Regions from separate parts of the Homo sapiens genome. Here region 2 is linked to region 1. Evidence: promoter capture Hi-C in 16 types of primary human blood cells and fetal thymus (Javierre and others, 2016). All regions are on one chromosome and are shown on one strand. The core of a region is centred on a gene start or on the middle of the fragment in contact, and the rest is flanking DNA. Distances in the headings are between cores, read along the strand shown. Region 1 holds the start of DYRK4 (dual specificity tyrosine phosphorylation regulated kinase 4). Region 2 overlaps PARP11-AS1 (PARP11 antisense RNA 1).

Evidence for each region. The method cuts DNA at HindIII sites, captures the fragments that hold promoters and counts their contacts. A CHiCAGO score of 5 or more calls a contact.
Region 2: a fragment that was not itself captured here is called in contact with the fragment with the promoter of DYRK4 in region 1 in 1 of 17 cell types (M0 macrophages); the score reaches 5.0 in M0 macrophages.

The regions. Positions count from the first base shown.
Region 1 is chr12:4,559,978-4,564,437 of GRCh38, forward strand. DYRK4 (dual specificity tyrosine phosphorylation regulated kinase 4) reads left to right here and starts at 2,231. Exons shown (of 15, transcript NM_001394779.1): 1 at 2,231-2,306. The coding sequence starts at 2,269. RAD51AP1 (RAD51 associated protein 1) reads left to right here. Exons shown (of 9, transcript NM_006479.5): 9 at 1-70. RefSeq lists a silencer at 2,066-2,360. The HindIII fragment of the contact is 1,088 bases long and covers 1,281-2,368 here.
Region 2 is chr12:3,891,032-3,895,491 of GRCh38, forward strand. All of the region lies in intron 1 of PARP11-AS1 (PARP11 antisense RNA 1), which reads left to right. Among named protein-coding and RNA genes, the nearest start is that of PARP11, 20 kb to the left of the region's middle. The HindIII fragment of the contact is 2,249 bases long and covers 1,238-3,486 here.

The sequences.
Region 1 (4,460 bases), core at 981-3,480:
TTTATGGAAATATCTATATTAATGTGAAAATAATTAATTTAGAATTGTGATTAAAGTGAGCATTTGTCTATTGCTGTTGTACACTTCTTTTATCTAACGTATATTTTTATAGTGTCATATACCAGCCCCCTAACCTGCCCCACCTGTCCCCTTTTTAAAAACATATTTTCCAGTTACATAGCACTGAGGTACTCTATTTGGTGTAGATCAACAATAAACATAAGAGCCTACTGTATATTAGGTACTGATATAATTGATTAATCATCTGGCACCAGCTCAATAACCTGTTTTTGCCGTGTTCTTTATAGTTTATCAGGGGATTTGAAAATTACCTCAAAGTATGTTAAAACCAGCCTGGCTGAAAGCACTGATACCTTTATGTTGCCAAACCCAGTGTACAATTTTCTCACCTAATCTTATACACCCTATTCATTATACTCTGATGAAAACATTTGATTTCCTTGGCTCATGTGACACATTTCTTTGTCATTTCTTCCCATCTCCATGCCTACTCTTCATTATTTTGCAGCTTTCTAATCTGTTGTGTCACCTTTACCTACTTGTCTTACCAGTTTCATGTTCTATGCAAACTCCAGGGGTCACTTATGTGACAGTGACTGCCAAGTCAGGGTCTGTACCCTATACCATGCTCTTGACAACAGAACCTGTGGATGGTCCACTGACAATTTGATGTAGCAGATCAGTTGTTAAATTCAACGTCTCCTCCTACCCCTGACATCTCTCCTGTGTTTTCTGTTGGTAAATGAATGGCACCACCATCACTGCAGGTGCCAAAGGTGTCATCCTGGGATTGAGTCTTCTCTCGACTTTCACATCCAGTCACCAAGTCTTACTCCATTTCCTAAATTTCTCAAAACTACTCTTCCATGTGCTCTCCCTTACTCTGAAACATCATCACTCACTATTTCTAACAGGCATCCTTGCCTTGATTCTTAACCTACTCGGGCCTACTTCCATTGTTATTGCCACAGAGGGTTTTATAAAATAAAGTCAGCATGAACACCCCTCTGCAGTCTGCACATACACACCTTACCCTGGTCGAGTTCATAGCCTACTTGGTGTCTGACTCCCCCTTTCCTGCTGCTTCAACCTTGTCTCTGCCCACGTGCAACTTTGATCCCTGCCCCACTAAACTGGGTGCTGGCACAATGGTACCAAGCTTTTCTATGGCTCTGGCCTTCAGAATAGGACTTGCCTCCTTTACGTAGACAACTACTGCCTGTCCTTGAAGACTCAGATTCAACTCAGCTCTTTCAGAAAGCTTCATTTGAATGTCTTTTCTGCCTGGACCAGACTGTGCACCTCCAGGTCAACCTACTGCCACTCAATTACAAATTTCCCTTTTCATGCTTTCTACAATCTGGTGCAGAGTAAGCACTCAAAAAGTGTTCAGCTGATATATGGATTTTACCCAGAACTTTTGCTATGTACTTACTTTTTTTCTTTTTCTTTTTCTTTTTTTCTTTTTTTTTTTTTTTTTTGAGATGCAGTCTCGTTCTGTCGCCAGGCTGGAGTGCAGTGGCGCGATCTCGGCTCACTGCAACCTCCGCCTCCCGGGTTCCAGCGATTCTCCTGCCTCAGCCTCCCAAGTAGCTGGGACTACAGGCACGCACCACCACGCCCCGCTTATTTTTGTATTTTTAGTAGAGACGGGGTTTCACCATGTTGGCCAGGATGGTCTTGATCTCTTGGCCTCGTGATCCACCCGCCTTGGCCTCTCAAAGTGCTGGGATTACAGAAAAAAATGTCTAAATAGAGACAGGGGCGGGGGGGTCTCACTACTTTGAGCAGTTTGGTCTCGAACTCCAGACCTCAAGTGGTCTGCCTAGGCCTCCCAAAGTGCTGGGATTGCAGGTGTAAAACCACCGCGCCCGGCCAGAACTTCTGTGATGTAATTCTGATAACCACATGCTTCGCTTGAAGAAGGGGAGAGAGTAGGGATAATTTCATGTGTCCGGTCTGGGCAACCAACTTTAAGTTCTTTATGCTGGGATTTTGTTCAATTCTTGCCCTATACTTTAAAGAACTGGGGCAAGAGAATGCGAGTAGGAGGACGAGGAGTATGTTCTTCAGGCTGCTACTCTGCAAGGTGGTTTGGGACCACAGCCTGAGAAAGCCCTTCCAGCTCTGGAGTCATAAAAAGGGCGGGAGCCGTTTCTATAGCGACGGGAGGAGGGCGTGGCCGTCCCTTGCCCTCTGCCGGGCTCTCACAGCCTCCCGCAGCGGCGGGCGGTCAGCGCCGGCCTCATGCAGCTCCTCCCGCCGCCTATCCGCACCGGAACAAAGTAAGGGCCGCGGAGGCTCGTACTTCACGAGCAGTCAGGCGCGAGTACGAGGCAGGCGACGAAGCTTCTGGTCGACGGGGTCGTGGGGGGAGAATGAAAAGCGTGCAGAATGCAAGAGCTGACCGGGGAATGTGGGTCAGAGAGAGGCGGGCTGTGGTGCGCGGACAAGAAAATACAGTTGTAGTTTTTGCAGCAGCTGCATCCCCGGAATCCGACGTCAGTATACTTCCATGTTAAGATGCTGTCGCATCGGCGACTCCAGCTGAGTGCAGGACAGGGAGCGAGGGGTTCTGAGGAACTCAGCAGACCTATCCTGGAACTGTGCTTCCAGCCCTCACTGGGACGCCAGACTTTCTTCCTCCCTTTCTTTCTCTTCTTTACTGCATGTCCTCTTGGTAGTCGTAAGTGGGTCCACGACCACACGCCTCGCGTGGATGAGGCTCTGGCAGGCATTACTCATGTTCCCACCCAGCCCATATGCCCGGGCACCTCTGTGCTCAACCAGGGCCCAGCCCCTGACACAAAAGCGCGCGAAGGTGTGTGTAGATCACACACCCAGAGCTGCCACTCAGGAAATTCCCAATATTAGCAAATCTTTCCTTAAAAAAGAGATGAACAATGCACAATTTGAGGGTTTTTAAAGGCTATTCTGTGACATTTGCTGCATTTGAAATGTCCAGCAGCCCCTCAAAGCTTAGGAAAACCGTGACCCCTCTGACATGTCTTAAGCAACGGACAGCATCACCAATATTAATTCAAGCTTCACTGTCCAGGCTTAAGTGGAGACTCGGCAAAAGCAGGAGGCCATTTAGTGGAAAAGTTCAAACCGTGGAAACAACAAATGAAAATGTCCTTTGTCTTGCTTGAGCGATTTGATCACCTACATGTGGTCGGTATGTAAAACCTAGGAGTTCGAAGAAATTCTTCAAACATGCACTCTACCTTATTGTTTCTGTTACTTAAATCTGTTGTTTCTCTTGTTTGTTTTGGTCCTTATGGAGAAAGCAGAGGTAAATCGGAAGGGACTCTCTAGCAATATGCCAGCCACTCTTCCCTGACTTTGCCCTCTCCAACTCCACATATTGTTGCCTGCAACTTGGCTAGAATGCATAGTCCTCAAGCGTGTGGAGGACCCAGTGCTGGGATTTAGTGGTTTTAGCTGACTCTAAGCCCATCGTGAGTGTGTTGTGATGGCTCCCCAAAGAGCAAATGCTGGTGGAGGCTGCATTCATAGAAATGCAATGACCACATCAAAGAATATGGTCGTGCTGCCTGACTTAGCAATGAGTAGAACATAATCCAGACTCTAGAAACTGTAGCTACTTTGAGATCACAAAGAACTGGAAAATAGGAACAACCACAAGGCAGGCTCTCTCTGTCAGGCCTGGGTGTGCCATCACATGAAGAGAGGTTTGAAAAAACTTCACAGAATGCCTGGAGATGAGGAGATGCAAGGGAGAGAAAGCTTTTTTCTACTCAACTTTTGAACATTCAAGAACTCTTGAGTAGAAAAGAGATAGATTTGTTCCTTGGTACTCTGCAGAGGATAGCAAGGATCAGTGGAGGAAATTTTGCTCAATATAGTTTATTCTTCCAAGAAATATCAAGTACCAACCCTATGTAAATTAACAGTTGAGTGTGAAATGGGTTGCCTAGAAAAACAGTGCACTCTGTCATAGAAATATTCCAGCATAGACAGAGTGATTGCCAGGAATACCATAGAAAGAGGATTCTTCCCCAGGGTGGGAAAATGGATGACATGGTCTCCAAAACCTCTTCTAGCTCTTTAGAGTCTGGGAGTCAGTGAACCCTCAAGAGTCTCAGGGATATATGCAGAGGGTCCAAGGAATTCTCTGGCAGAAATGAGTGTGACTTAAAATACATTTAGATAGAAGAAATAAGACCTAGTGTTTAATAAATCAGTAGAATGACAATAGTAAACAATAATCTATTGTATATTTCAAAATAGCTAGTAGAGAATAATTTGAAGCCCTGACTTGATTATATATTATATAAATATAAATATACATCTATTATATATCAATTAAAAAATGAATGTAACTTAAGTTCATTAAAAACATTATCACCTGTTCACAGAATGCAAACGGAATCCCTGCAAACCCTGCACTGCCATACTTTCTGCCCCAAAGACAG
Region 2 (4,460 bases), core at 1,112-3,611, 670 kb before region 1:
TATTCCAGAGTCCTCCTCACACACATGAGAAGAGGCTCTAGCTTCCTTTGTGGTCACTACCTCTAGTCTTCAATCACCAAGAAAAAGTCAGGAGTTGAAAGGCCAAACCGTGTACCATTATAAGCAAAGCTGCAAACTGACAAGTCAGTCCAAGGCTTACAAAGCAGTGTTTGTACGGTGCTTTCATAGGCTTGGTTGGGGGTGATAAGTACAAATTTCCCACGCAAATATATGTAAAGCTGGTGTTTAGTAAGCTTGTAATAAACGGGAGTGTTTATAACTGCTAAACATAATGATAACACTGGAACTCTTTACAAGAAAGCAAAACTAAAAGTGTGTGAAGAAACTGCCCGGCCACGTGCTGGGCTGTCCCCATCATCAGGCCCGGGAACGTAAACTCCTGCACCTTAGCTCCCTCGTGATCGACAGTCATCCAGAAAGCATATCACCTAAGCCACATCTCCCCCTTTTCCCAAAGCCCTGTCAAAGCTCGTCACTTTGAGTCAAGGAAAGCACTTGCCCTGGGAAGTCCTTCCTGTGAAGCCACCCTTATCCCTGCCATGCCTGAGCCCCAGACCCTCAACCCACCTCAGCCTCCGTCCAGTTACAAATCCCAGGCCAGTCCATCGCCTGGACTCTGGCTTCCCCACCCAGTTTCTCCTCTTCTGCTCTGCCTTGTCACCTCCTTTCCTCCTTGCTCTCCTGCTGCATCGCTCGGGAAGAAAGCCTGCTCCCCGAGAGGCTGGGCAGCAGAGGTACGACCATGCTCTCCTTCTACCTGAGAAAACCCAGGCCCAGGGAAGCCTCGCCCCTTGTCCAGGGTCACATTTCTTGTAAGTATTACATACTAAATATGTAATACATGGGACATGCAGGGACTTGAAGCCATTTCATTCTACTGTGAATAGTAGAATATTATGTTTCAGGGTCTAGACCCGAAGTCATCAGCTCCAAGAGGAGACTCTAAGATTTCTCATGGTGACTAGAAGCCTGTTAGAACACCTCCTAGAGACACACAATTGCATCCAGACTTAGAGGCATGTGGGAAAAGTAAATAAGAAAGGGAATGAGGAAAGTAACACAAGATATCATTTATATGTTCTGCTTCAAATTGTCTTTTCTGAGGGGTTTTTAGGACACAATACATCACACTTCCCTGTCCCTTGTTGTATTCAATCTTTCCAAAAGCTATGGCAGTAATGAAGGGTCTGGAAATGTCCTTCCACCTGCCATGTGAAGCTTCCAGCTGAGCTACAAGGAAAACCTAGACAGACAATCTTGAGAACCACGTGGGTGCACCATCACCTCCAGAGTCTCTTGGCCCTTTCTCTCCGTGATCTCGTCCACTCCATGAGTCCTTCTGATGTCATGCTAGAACTCCCGTAAGATTGTGTGCTTGGTCCTTAGAGCCTCCGTATGTTTTTCTTTCATTCCATAGGAGCACTATTTCAATGGGTATGGCCTCACACCCTCCTCCTGTCTCCATTTCCTTTAATCACATCTTAAGCCCCTGCAATTGGGCATCTGCCCAAACTCCTCTTCTGTACCTGCTCCCTCAATAGCCAGTGACCTTCTTCCCAAATCTGGTGATATTTCCAAGCCTCCCCTCTTCCCAGGCCTCCCTGAAGCAGGTGGCCCAGCTGATGTCTCCTTCCTTCAGGAAATTGTCTACATCTGGTCCTCTCTTGCATGCTCAGTTGTATTCCCTTCTTTAGGGAAGAAAGTAGGCTATGAACTAGCAAAGCAATGCCCTATTTCTGCCTTTGCTGCTTCCTGCTCCACCCTGACACATACTCTCACTCTCTCTCACTCTCTCTCTCTCTCTCCCTCTCTCTCTCTCTCTCTCTCTCTCTCTTTCTCTCTCTCACTGCTCCCTAAGTCCCTGAGTGTCGGTGTCCTGCAAGTCTCACTCCTTGGCCTGCGCTCTCCTCATTCTCAATAGGCTCATCCAGTCTCATGATTTTAGCCTTCAGCCCTGATGGCAACTCCCAGTCTTTGCTCCTAACTGTGACTCTCAGGTGTACTCTGTCTCATGGTTTGTTTATTTATTTATTTATTTATTTATTTATTTTTGAGACAAGGTCTTACTCTGCCCCCAGGCTGGAGTACAGTGGCTCAATCATAGCTCACTACAGTTTGGATCTCCCAGGGTCAGGCGATCCTCCCATCTCAGCCTCCCAAGTAGCTGGTACCACAGGCATGTGCCACCATACCTGGCTAATTTTTTTAATATTTTGTAGAGATGGAGTCTCAAGATGTTGCCCAGGATGGTCTCGAATTCCTAAGCTCAAGCTATCCTCCCACCTCCGCCTCCCAGAATGCTGGGATTATAGGTGTGAGCCACTGCACCTGGCCCTGTCTCATGGTTTAAAGCATTCCTCCACTTGATGTCTTTCGGATTCAGTTACAAGGAGGGATAAATACACTCCTTACCAACCAAAAGCTCCATGAGCCTTTGGACCTGGCCCTTTGAGTTCTATCCTGCCACACCCCATTTTTGGCTTGTTGAGGAGACCAGCTATTGCTATCGGCTTCTGTCAATCGACTTACCAGTCACTCTGTGTCTCGCTTTTATACCATTACCATGGATGAGGTAGCTCTCTTCCTGACAAAGACCACCCTGTCCATGTGCGCCCCAGATCCCACCACTATCCTAGCATTCTCCCCTCTCTTCTGAATCATCAGCTCTCCTCTCTATACGGGATGAATCCCATGAGCCTTCAGACCTGCTCCCATCTTACACATGCACGCACGCACACACACACAGGACACCGCTCTTAACCCCACTTCCTCCCGTTTCTCTCCTTCTCTACACAGCAAAACTCCTCTAAATAGTTGTTCTTGCTCACCATGTCAGACCTCTCTTCTCCCACATCCTCTGTTGGAGTCATTCTAATTAGGACTTCACAGCACCCAGGCCCTCCTACTCTCTCTCCGATGCACAAACCACCAGCGCCAAAACTGTTCTTATCAAGGTCACCAATCATCTCTTCACCATGACATCCTATGGTCATTTCTAAGTCCTCATCATCCTGGACACCTCAGGTAACACATGGCACAGTTGATCTCTCCATTCTTCTGGAATACATTTTCCTCACTTGGCCTCTGAGAAGACTTCCCCCCCAGGTTTTCCTCCAGCTTTCCTGGATACTCCTTTCCAGTTTCCTTGCTGATTCCATCTCAGGTCCCCACCTTGTAATGTTAGAATGCCCAGAGCCCAGTACTCCGATCTCTTCTTTTTTCTAATTCTACTCTCTTCTTTGGTGATCTCATTCGGTCTATGAGTTTTAAACATAATCAATATGGTTTTGATGCCCATGTTTATAATTACACATGCACATGCCCAATTGCCTATTCACAATCTCTATTTGAATGTTTAATCGGTATCCGAATGTATCAAAAAACAGAACTCCTGGTCTGGATGCCAAACCTGCTCCTTCCACAGCCTTTCCCAGCTCGGTTAATGGCCATGGGTCTGGTTGCTCAAGCTTAAACCCTTAGAGCTTCCTCTCACATGTGCTCTCTCTCTTTTGATGCCTCTGCAAATCCTGTTCACTTTACCTTCAAATTATGTGCAGAATAGAACCATGTTCTGCTGTTTCCAAGGCTACTCCCTAGCCCAGCCACTATGTGACAGCCCCCTAACTGCTCTCCCGCTTCTGCCCTAGCTGCCTACATACTATTCTCAACAGAATTCTCAGTGTTATCCTGTTCAACTATAAGCTTGATCATGTCACTTCCCTGCCTCCCAGGATAATAAGAGCAAAAATCAGTATTCAACACGATGTCCTGCAAGTCCCTCCACAGTATGGGCGCTTGTCACCTGTCAGACTCCATGTCTAATGGCTGTCTCTTTTGCATACTCTGCTCCAGCCATCCTGGCCTCTGCTCGCCCTAAAACATGCCGGGCACAGTCCACCTCGGGGTCTATGCACTTGTTCTTCCCTTCACCTGGAATGCTTTTCTTCAAAAAATCCCCATGGCTTGCTTTCTTACTTCCTTCAGGCCTGAATTGAAATTTCACTTTCCCTGTGAAGAGGCCTTGATTACCTTCTTTAAATACCCCCCTCTCCCAGCCTCAAAGTTTCATAACCATCAGTTACCCTGCTTGATTTTTCCCACAGTCTTATTACCAGTTGACCAAAGATATTTACTTACTTGGTTTTTTCACTTGTCTATCTCTCCTTACTGAAATGTAAGTTCCATGATGGCAGGGATTTTTGTCTGTCTGGTTCAATTCTGAATTCTCATTGCCTAAACTGTGTCCGACATGTAGTGTGTGCATAATAAATACATATTCACAGAGTGACTGAATGAATGGATGGATCTCTCCCTTCAAAATGATATTCAGATTCCCTCTATAGTCTTCATTCTAACTACCAGCCCCCATTCTGGACTTACCCCTTGAGGTCTGTGTTTCTGTGATGTTCTATGCACTGGGTATCCCTCTAACACCAGAA